Linked DNA regions of Homo sapiens: region 2 is linked to region 1. Evidence: promoter capture Hi-C in human tissues and cell types (Jung and others, 2019). All regions are on one chromosome and are shown on one strand. The core of a region is centred on a gene start or on the middle of the fragment in contact, and the rest is flanking DNA. Distances in the headings are between cores, read along the strand shown. Region 1 holds the start of CCDC15 (coiled-coil domain containing 15). Region 2 overlaps SIAE (sialic acid acetylesterase).

Evidence for each region. The method cuts DNA at HindIII sites, captures the fragments that hold promoters and counts their contacts. A contact is called where the count stands out against the background at its distance.
Region 2: a contact is called between a fragment that was not itself captured here and the fragment with the promoter of CCDC15 in region 1, in 1 of the 25 tissues and cell types used here (neural progenitor cells).

The regions. Positions count from the first base shown.
Region 1 is chr11:124,950,523-124,955,847 of GRCh38, forward strand. It overlaps CCDC15 (coiled-coil domain containing 15), which reads left to right and starts at 3,680. Exons shown (of 16, transcript NM_025004.3): 1 at 3,680-3,848; 2 at 4,202-4,387. The coding sequence starts at 4,211. CCDC15-DT (CCDC15 divergent transcript) reads right to left here and starts at 3,469. Exons shown (of 3, transcript XR_948134.3): 1 at 2,960-3,469; 2 at 817-1,028; 3 at 1-37. RefSeq lists an enhancer at 3,340-3,883. The HindIII fragment of the contact is 10,363 bases long and covers 1-4,861 here.
Region 2 is chr11:124,650,136-124,655,880 of GRCh38, forward strand. It overlaps SIAE (sialic acid acetylesterase), which reads right to left. Exons shown (of 10, transcript NM_170601.5): 4 at 4,520-4,658. Among named protein-coding and RNA genes, the nearest start is that of SIAE, 21 kb to the right of the region's middle. The HindIII fragment of the contact is 7,658 bases long and covers 1-5,359 here.

The sequences.
Region 1 (5,325 bases), core at 2,430-4,929:
CTTGCATTTGTTTTTTGTCTAACATAATTTCCATAGTCTAAAATAAACATAAACAGCAAGAAGTCATTAGCAAAAAAATAAAAGTGAGAAATGCCCATTAAACTGATGTATAACATAACCACATTTATTCAAGCATGTATTCCAACATCAAATGGCAAATTCCAACAATGAAAAACCACAATAACTTTTGCACTCACCTAATAGTAGCTGTTTTCTGTTCCTTGCCCCTCTGGGTGGAGGTGGGATGGGTTTCCTTCTTGCTATTCAGTTACTCAGTGCTTTTGCTAAACCACATCCTCCCTTTTTCTTAACCTCACCTCCAACTTTGAACCTCATGTCACCAGAATATACCATGCTTGGGTTTCCAAGCTATACTTACCCACCAACCTCCAAGCCTTTTCAAGATTGTTGCTTCTGGCTTTCTCCAACATCATTCTTGTTATATTTTTTGGTGATTTCAGTATCCTCATGGATCATCCAATCAATGCTCTGGTGTTTGGTTTCTATGACCTCTTCTCCAGTGATCTTGTTCTTTAACCCACCTTAGCTTTCCCTCCTTTGGTCATACCATAGACTTTGACAGCACCAATAACCACAACCTCTGCATACACTCAGCTCCAAGCAGCCTACTCTCAGACCACCTCTTATCTTAGCACATTCTTTTGAGTATCCTGTTCTAACAAACTTTAGACCACCACAGGAACCTACAACTTCTTGACTCTACCAACTTTTCATAGTCCCTTACCTCCTACTTCTCTCATTGTATAACAAATGACCCTCAAATTTAGCATCTTAATACAACAAACATTATCTCACACAGTTTCTCGTTGGGCGGTCTGGCTCAGGGTCTCTTATGAGGTTGCAGTCAATTGTTGGCTGAGTACAGTCTCTGAAGACTTGATTAGGGCTGGAGGGTCTACTTCCAAGTTCTTTCACAGGGCAGCTGGCAGAATGTTTCAGTTTCTTGCCATGTGATCCTCTTTATAGAACTGCTAATGATGTACATGGCTTCCCTCAGAACAAGAGATCTGAGAGGGAGGGAGGGAGGGAAGGAGGGAGGGAGAGAGAGTGAGCGAGCCCATGTGAGCATATCTCTTATAACCTAACCTCTGTAGTAATATACCATCCCTTCTGCCATATTCTGTTGGTCATACAGTCCAACCTAGGTACAATGTGGGAGGGGACTACACAAAGGTGTGAACACCAAGAGGTGGGGATCATTAGGGGCCATCTTGGAGGTTGGCTACAATACTATTTTACAGAGAAAACAGAGTAATCAGAAGAGAATTTCCATAAGCTCCTGCCACCACATTACCTAATTATCAGTTTACTGTGTATTCTAACTTTTCTGCTATTATTATAATTAACCATACCTCCTGCTATCTAAGGCCAATCCCTCCACTTGTTCACTAAATTCCATTTCCTCTATGAGGTTTGCACAAAGACAAAATCACCTAACATTTATCAAAATGTATCCCCATCTTTAAGTGACACATGACTGTAGATCCCTAAATTCTCCCATATCTCTCCCGCATCATTAGTTTTCTCCTGTCTATTGGTTAATTTCCATCAATAACAAATATATGCTATGATCTTAAAGAACTCTCCAATGATCCTACCTCTACGTTCAGCCACCTCTTTCGCTGTGTCCCTTCACAACAAAATTCATGGAAAGAATTGTCTAAAATTGCTGTCTCCAATTCCTTCTCCTACTCTTTCTTGCCTAGCCCATCAGGCTTTTGCTCTCCAACTACTCTAAAGACACTGCTCTTTTAAAAGTTATCAATCACTTCCACATGGTCAAATCCAATAGTCAATTTTCAGTCCTTACCTTATTTGATCTGTCAGTAGGATTTAACACAGATTGTCTGCCCTCAATGGAACATTTCTTTTTCACCTGGCTTTCAAGGTATCACACCCTCATAGTTTTCTTCCTTGGTTTACTGATTAATCCTTCTCAATCTCTTAGCATTCTCCTCCTCTTTTTCTCAGCCTCTGTAATACTGACATACCCTGGGGCTGTTTTAGGATTTATTCTTTTATCTGTCTATATTCAACCCCTTGATGACTCCATCCAGTCTCATGGCTTTAAATCTACAGGCTAACGACTCTTAGATTTATATTTGTAGCCCAGAACCCTTCTCTGAGCTCCAGACACTTTTTCTCATACTATCTTCTCGGATGTTGATTAGATAAAACTTTATCTGCCCCAAACTGAACTCCTGATCTTCCCCTTTCCAAATCTACTCCTTCCACCATCTTCACTATCTCAGTAAATAGTAATTTCATCCTGACAGCTGCTCAGGATGAAACCCCTAGTTTTCCTTGACATCTCTCCCTCACACAATCCATATCCAAACCTTCAACAGATCCTGAAAGTTTTGCCTCCCAAATAGATACAGAATCCAACCACTTATCATCATCTCCACCACTACCTCCTTGATCCAAGACATCACAATCCCTTAACTGAATTATTGCAATAGCCACCTAATTGGTCTTCTTTACAGTCTATTCTCACTACAGCATTCGGAATTATTATTTTTTTAATTTTGTCACATTATGGTGTTCCTTTGCTCCAAACCTTGCTCCAGTGGCTCCCCATCTCAACACCTATGGTGGCTTACGATGTTTGATCGGATTGCCTGCTTGACCTACTGTCTCAGCATTCTTCCACTCTCCCTCTGCTCCAGTCACACTATCCTCCTGACTTTTTCTCAACCAGGCAATGCTTCCACCTTGGGGCGTTTATACTTGCTGTTATATCTGGAACATGTTTATAAAGCCTCCGTTGAAGAGCACAGTGGCTTCTTCCATTAACTCATTTAAGTCTTTGCTGAAAAGTATCTCAGTGCAGCTTCTCTGGACGTTCTAATATTTCATCCCTCCAATCCCCACCCTGCCCACCACACTCCCTATCCGCTTTCTTTGCTTTTACTCCACATCACACACATTTACTTACTCATTGTTTATTCGCTTATTTCCCCTCACTCTATTGTGAATTCCCTGAGCAGGGATATTTGTTTCGTTCATAGCTATGTATCTCCGGTGCTTGGAACAGTACTGGTTTATAAAAAGTTAGTAGTAATGTATGTTAATCGAATGAATAAATTATCCTACAGAGATAATTGAGTGTCTCTGGATTACAGCAGAGCTTGCAGCAGAGAGGGAGACCACTCAACAGGCCGTGATGTCCAAATATAATAAGATGTATGAAACAGTACTGTAAAATTAGCTGCACAAAGGATCCGAAAAATTTGTTAGCTTAGTTTGTTTCTCCAGGAAGCCGTGCCAGGCTCGCCTCCCTCTTTCATTCTTTTCCCGTGATTCCCTCTACTGGGACTCCTGACCCTCCTAGTCGCCAGATCACAGGCCCAACGCATCCCTTTCCGGAGGGATTTAGGAAGTCTCGGCGTTGGTCCAGGAACGACAGTCCCACCGCGCCTCACATGGCGCATTACCCAGCGACTCCGCTTACCCACACGTCCCCGCCCCCTCAGCCGGACAGGAAGAGGAAATGACGATACCTCGGGCGCTCGAAACTCCACCTCTCACGCCTTCCCAGCTCCGGGAGGGGACGCGGGCTCCGGAAAGGGCGGGCATAAGGCTACGGATGGGCGGGACGGAGCAGCCCACCGCAAAGTGGCGGTCTACTTGAGGCGGTTACCTTAGTACTCCGAGTAGACTGAGTCTGTGGCGAGCTGCGGGCCGATTCCTGGCCAGTGCCATCTCAGCCGGAGCAGGCCTCGGGGCCTCAGAAGCAGGCTTTTATCTGGCCCGAGGCTCCCAGCCGTTCAGCGCGTCTTCCCATAACCTATACCGATTATTGGGACTCTCGGCTGCAGACACAGGTCCCCGCCCCTCCCTCTTTCTCCGGGTTGCAGCTGTCATTCCTCCCTTCCCGCCTCGCTGCGCCCACAGCTGAGGACAGTCTTCGTTCTCTCATTCCCATCCTTTCTCTTCCCTCTCATCGCCATTTCTTCTAGAAGGCAACTTAAAAACCTTTCTTTGCCTCTTTATTTCTTCCCATTTCTCTTCCCTTCTTTTCTTCCTTTTTCTCTAGAATCCGTGTGTTTCCACTTCATGCCAGGCTTCTGCCTCCAGGGCTTCTCTCCTTTTCACGGGCCTGTGGCTCATGTGTTAGGAGGTTGAACTTTTAATGCAGTCATTTGAAGATTTTAAGCTTTTTCTTTCTCCTAATCAGGAGTCACAGATGCTGGGAAGTATGGCCCGAAAGAAACCTCGAAATACCTCAAGGTTGCCCCTGGCTTTAAACCCCCTGAAGAGCAAGGACGTGTTGGCAGTGCTGGCTGAGAGGAACGAGGCTATAGTACCAGTTGGGGCATGGGTGGAACCTGCCTCACCAGGTAGTTCGGAAATCCCAGCATATGTGAGTGTCAGTTTGATCCAAATATGGTGGGGTTCCCCACCACCCTTTTTATTAGCCTTCTCTAATCCTGGGTGCTTAAAGATGAACAGTCCGAGGATGCTGTTTCTATTCTGCCATAAATAGTTTATGCTCTTGCATTAGGATTATAGAACAAGTATTTGCCAAAACTTGACTGCAGCTTTAGTTGGCATAATCAAATATTTATTACTCACCTACTATAATATATAGAGCATAATCTACATGGAACAGGTTATATAGATATATATCTGTATATCAGTTTACTTCAGACTCTTGATTGCTTGTTATGCCCAAGACATAAGCACTATCTACATCTTCCAGACACTGCAACTTAGTATGGATGATAGTTGGCATACTTCAAGTAACATTAATTGGTTGCTTAAGGTTTATGATAAATTTTGTAATGAGGATTCAGGCAAAATGGAGTAATAGAATAAAGGAGAAAGAGATGAACTCTGATAATCTGAGAAAGTCTAACTAGAAATTCCATGGTTTCTGATAGTCTTTCACCAAACTGTGCCCCTTAGCTATTTGTTCAAATTTAACTTGGCACTTACCACATTGTGTTATAGTAGATTGTTTATATATCTTTTCCTGATGCAGTGTGAGCTCCTTGAGCGTAGAGAACAAATGTCATTTATCATCACATTCCCACTTTTATCTTAAATACTGCCTAATCAATATAGACACTCATGAAGTATTTATGAAAGGCACAAAATGTCTTCTGTATGTGTAGACAAGGTGCTGAACATGGATGAAAAAAGGATGAGATATGTTCCCTCAGTGTACTTGATCTCAGAAGAGAAATGAGATGTGTTTAAATGTTAAAGTAATGCAATATACTATATTCATTTTATTTATGTTTGCACATATGTATGTATATTCATTGATTTATTCCTACCCTGCCTATTTCCAAAAAG
Region 2 (5,745 bases), core at 281-2,780, 300 kb before region 1:
GCCTGGGAGAGAGGCAGATATGATAGCGATTTTGCTCTCAGTCTGATTATAAATAATTCACTTACATAACATGGAAGTTAAAACTCTGGCTAGGCAATAGGCTTCCCCATGCTTCCCATCACTTACAGGATCTGCAGACTCTCGGATAATCAATGCTCTCCCTCAAATAGGTGAGAGGTGGGAGGGCCATCATGTCCCCATGCTACTCTCTTCTGTGTCTCCCCTCTTACTCAGCCACTCATTCCCACTTAGCTCTGTGGAAGGGAAAAAGCAAGGAGGGGGCAACTTAAGAAGAAATGTGTATTTCTTCTTTTTTCTGGTGGCTTTATACCCAATTTTATAGCTATGCTAAAGAGGCTGGGCGCAGTGGCTCACACCTATAATCCCAGCACTTTGAGAGAATGAGGCAGGTGGATCATCTGAGGTCAGGAGTTCGAGACCAGCCTGGCCAATATGATGAAACCCCGTCTCTACCCAAAATACAAATATTAGCTGGGCGTGGTGGTGGGCACCTGTAATCCCAGCTACTCGGGAGGCTGAGGCAGGAGAATCGCTTGAACCTGGGAGGCATAGGTTGCAGTGAGCTGAGATCGTGCCATTGCACACCAGCCTGGGCAACAAGAGCAAAACTCTGTCTCAAAAAAATAAATAATAAATAAAATAAAAGTCAAAAAATAAAAATAAATAGCTATGGTAAAGAAAACATGGACAGATAAGTGATGGGAAATTCGGCCCAAAGGGAAAGCCACAGAAGCCAAAACTAGTGTTTAAATTCTCAGCACAGTCTAATTCATTCATCCAATTACACTGCCCAGTAACCAACAGAGGCAAGAGTGAGCAATTTCATGTTAGAAGAAAGCTGGTGAAGAGGGGGGCATGCATGTACACACAAGGATGGGATCAGTTCAGCCCAAGGTTTATTAAAGACTGACTATGGCTAAGTCACTGGCACTCCAAAAGTAGACAGTGCAATAGTGAGGATTCAAATCAATTCCAAAATAATTAAATGGACAGAGCACCTACCATGTATCAGGAACTACTAGATGGATGGGAGACAGTGATGAAAGCAATATAGAGACACATGGAACCTCTCCTCATAGGTCTATTAGTTGATAGAATAAGGCAAGTAGGGCTGGGCATGGTGGCTCATGCCTGTAATCCCAGCACTTTGGGAGGCTGAAGCAGGCAGATCATGAGGTCAGGAGTTCGAGACCAGCCTGACCAACGTGGTGAAACCCCATCTCTACTAAAAATACAAAAAAATTAGCTGGGTGTGGTGGCGCACACCTTTAATCCCAGCTGCCTAGGAGGCTGAGGCAGAAGAATCGCTTGAACCTGGGAGGCGGAGGTTGCAGTGAGCTGAGATCGTGCCACTGCACTCCAGCCTGGGCGACAGAGCAAGACTCCGTCTCAAAAAAAAAAAAAAAAGAGTAAGACAAGTATTTAGTTGAATAAAATATATGGCAAAAGATGGTAAGTACAAACAAGTATTAAGGAGTTTTAACACAAAGAAAGAATATCAAATGAGAGGCAGATCCTAAAAGGCCTAATAAACACTGACCTCCCCGCCCCGCACCGTGCTTCCACGACACTCTGTGCATCGCTCCATCACTAGACCTTGCAATAACCATCTGTTCAGTGTTTCCCTTAGCTCACTACACTATTAGCAGAGACTTCACCTGATTCACGTCTGTATCCCCAGCGTCCAGGACATGATGGAGAGTCAGTGTTTGCTGACTGATTGAGGGTGGCTGTGGTTTCACTGACAGTAGGTAGAGGGGAGTGGTAAACAGGAGGGAAGAAGAGAGCTGGAGAAGCCTTAAACCAGCAACAGGAGTTTAACAGACAGAGCTGGCACTCAAGGCAGAAGAAAAAATACGTGAAAAGGCACACAGAATAGGAAATATTCTGAGAGTATTTGGCTGGAGCAGAGATTATAAAAGAGAACAGTGGAAGATAAGACTGGAGGGGAGGTTAGAGCCACATCTTGGAGTAAAGAAAATGGAAACCCACTTGAAAATGCTTGAGAATGAGAATGTGGGGTGTAGGCAAAATAACAGACCCCAAAGACGTCGACACACTCATCCCTGGAACCTGTGGCTGTGTTACCTTGCATGGCGAAAGGCACTTTGTAGATGTGATTAAGGTTAGGGACCTTGAGATGGAGAGAGTGTCCTGGCTCATCTAGGTGCGTCCAATCTAATTACAAGAGTCCTTAAAATCAGAAAACCTTTCCCAGCAGCAGTGATGTGATGACAGAAGAGGCAGGAGACCGGGCGCGGTGGCTCACGCCTGTAATCCCAGCACTTTGGGAGTGTGAGGCAGGCAGATCATGGATCACTTGAGGCCAGGAGTCCCAGACCAGCCTGGCCAACATAGTGAAACCCCGTCTCTACTAAAATACAAATATTAGCTGGGCGTGGTGGGGCACACCTGTAATCCCAGCTACTCGGGAGGCTGAGGCAGAAGAATCACTTGAAGCTGGGAGGTGGAGGTTGCAGTGAGCCAAGATCACATCACTGCACTCTAGCCTGGGTAACAGAGTGAGACTCGGTCAAAAAAAAAAAAAAAAAAAAGGGGGAAGAGCACAGCAGGCAGGAGAGATTCTCAACGTGGGAGAGATGGATCCTCTGTGCCCTTCCTAGGTATCTGAATTGCCTCGCCTCTTTCAGGCTGCTACTGAAATGTTGCCTTTCCCCATCCCAGCACGAACACTTCCTATTGCCTCCCTTCCCTGATATATTTATTTGTTTTTGTCTCATTAGCACGTCACCCATTAACCTATCCTGTGATATCCACATTTATTCATTCAGTTTCTGATTTCACAAAGTGAAAACAAGTTCAGATAACAAGGCATAATACATTATCCAAATTTGATTGAGTCCTGAGTTTTGGATACCATGTAGTAAGAGTTCATAGAGCAAAGGATTCATCCAAAAATTTACCTGAATCCATTCAGTTCCTGAGCTCTTTTATAGGGAGAGTTCGGATAGTGTAAGACTGGATAGCATCAGATACTTTGTCTATAATTTGCTTATTTTATGATTCACTTTCAGAGTTCCCTTACACTAGACTGTAAGCTCCATGAGGTCAGGTATTCTTGCCTGTTTTACTCACTACAATATCCCCAGCACTTAGAACAGTGTCGAGCACATAGTAGACACTCAAATATTTGTTAAGTGAATTACTACTTATAAATGTAGGAGCATCTGAGCACCAAGGAAAGCATGCACAGGAGAAAAAGAAAAAGTCCAGGGGGAACACAGGGACCACCTCTGAGGGAAGGGAATGAAGAAGCAAAGAAAAAGGGACAGAGAAGACAGAGGAGGAGAAGTAGGAAAAGAAAGTACCAGGCAAGCAAGGAGGGACATGCAGTTTCTAAAGGGGGTGGTCCGCAGTGCTGAATGCGGCAAAGGTCTCTAGGTTTATCATTAGAAGAATGATAGTAACATCAAGGTGAACAAATTGTTGAGGTGGAAGCAGAAGCCAGGTGACAAAGGGCTGAAGAGTGAACACAGGGAAAGGCAGTGAAAAGAATGAAAACAGAAGACGTTCTAGAAAGGTTTAACAAAGCAAAGGAGAAAGATGAAGCATCTGTGAAGGGTGTTTGCGATGTTTACTGTTGTTTTGTTTTGTTTTATTTTGTGAGAATAGAAGAAAGGCTAAGCTCAGAGAGCAGGGACTGTGTGTCCGTTTGGTCACTGCTGTATCCCTGGGGCCTGGCACAGATCCTGACACAAAGCAGTCATGAAATGGAGAGTGGCCGGGTGCAGTGGCTCACGCCTGTAATCCCAGCACTTTGGGAGGCCGAGGTGGGCGGATCATGAGGTCAGGAGTTCGAGACCAGCCTGGCCAATATGGTGAAACCCCATCTCTACTACAAATACAAAAATTAGCTGAGCGTGGTGGCTGGTGCCTATAGTCCCAGCTACTCGGGAGGCTGAGGCAGGGGAATCACTTGAACCCAGGAGGCGGAGGTTGCAGGTGAGCCAAGATCACACCACTGCATTCCAGCCTGAGCGACAGACTGAGACTCCGTCTCAAAAAAAAGAAAAAGAAAAAAAAGAAATGGAGAGCTCATGCTGAATGGACTGAGGGGAAAACCACAGTGCCTAAGGGATTAAAGAAGGCTCTGGAGAAAGGAGAACCCAAATCAGAGTTAGCCCTGAAAAGAGACCAGTTGTCTACAGACACAGAGACAAGGGAAGAAAGAAGAGAGGATTTGGAGTGAAGGCATCGGCGAGAGATGCTGGCGGAGCCCATGCCGAAGGGCCTTGATATTTTCACTGAAGATGTTGAAGGAAGACTCATTTCCCCACAGCAAGAGGGAAGATTTGTTGGTAGTCTTGGGAAGAAACCTGAAATAGTCACCATCAGGAAGGATGAAGAGTCAATAAGAAAGGAATAAAAGGCATGAGTAATAATAAATAGACACATAAGAACCAAATTCAGTCTTACAGATTCCACTTAGGGCGCTAACCCATTATATAAGAGACAGCACGTTCAAGCCGTCACATACCTGAGGTGGGCTTAGACCACTGCAAGTCAACCGCAACAAGGTCCTCCAGCTCCTGCTCTGCTTGAATGGGAGAGACAGAGAGGATGCGGACAGACTGATATGCCGCAGTGTTAGACAACTCCCTTGTAGCATTAAATATCTGGAAAAGAAATTGAAACGTCATTTAACCTAGCAGGTGGTGAACTAGCCTGACACCTCTTAGTAAACATCAGTCCTCTGAGCTCCTGAGCTTTCAATATACTGAGATCAAATTAATAACCAAAACCAATGGGCTGCACTGAATCACCTTGATCCACTTTTACCAAAAGAGACCAGGATGAATCATGTTCCCAAAGAGGGTAGAAATATAATGAAATCTGTGATCTTAAGGAGCAGGTCTATGTTAGACAAGAGGAGCCGTGAAGTAGCTGAGGCTAAAGAATATTGCCCAGCACTTACAACACTCTGATACCTTGAAACTGAAATATTTCTACTCTGAAAAAGTATCTCATAACACAAAACCAGACCAATTAACTTCTTCTTTTTTTTTTTTTTTTGTGTGTGAGACAGTCTTGCTCTCTCGCCCAGGCTGGAGTGTAGTGGCCAATCTCAGCTCACTGCAAGCTCCGCCTCCCAGGTTCACACCATTCTCCTGCCTCAGCCTCCCGAGTAGCTGGAACTACAGGCGCCCACCACCATGCCCAGCTAATTTTTTATATTTTTAGTAGAGACGGGGTTTCACCGTGTTAGCCCGGATGGTCTCAATCTCCAGACCTCGTGATCCGCCTGCCTTGGCCTCCCAGAGTGCTGGGATTACAGGTGTGAGCCACCGCACCCAGCCAATTAACTTCTTTTTAAAATGGTGCTTAGGATATTATGTGGAACCAAAAAGGCCGTGGGGAGGTAGATTTGTCTAATCCATACCACACAAGAGAAGCATGCTTAAAAGAAACACAGCTCAGACATGACTGTTGAACTACTGAAACATAGTTGAAGTACTGAAACATACTGGAATAAGTCTCAAAATGCATATACAGTTATCCTTCATGTCCACAGGGCATTGGTTCCAGGAACCACACCCCCCCACACCAAACCCCAGCACATCAAAATCTGAAGATGTTCAAGTCCCTTATACAAAATGGCATATTTGTTTATAGCCTACAAACATCCTCCTGTATCTCTATATTACTTATACCTAATGCAATGTAAATGCTATGTAAATATTTATTATATATGTTAAGCAACCC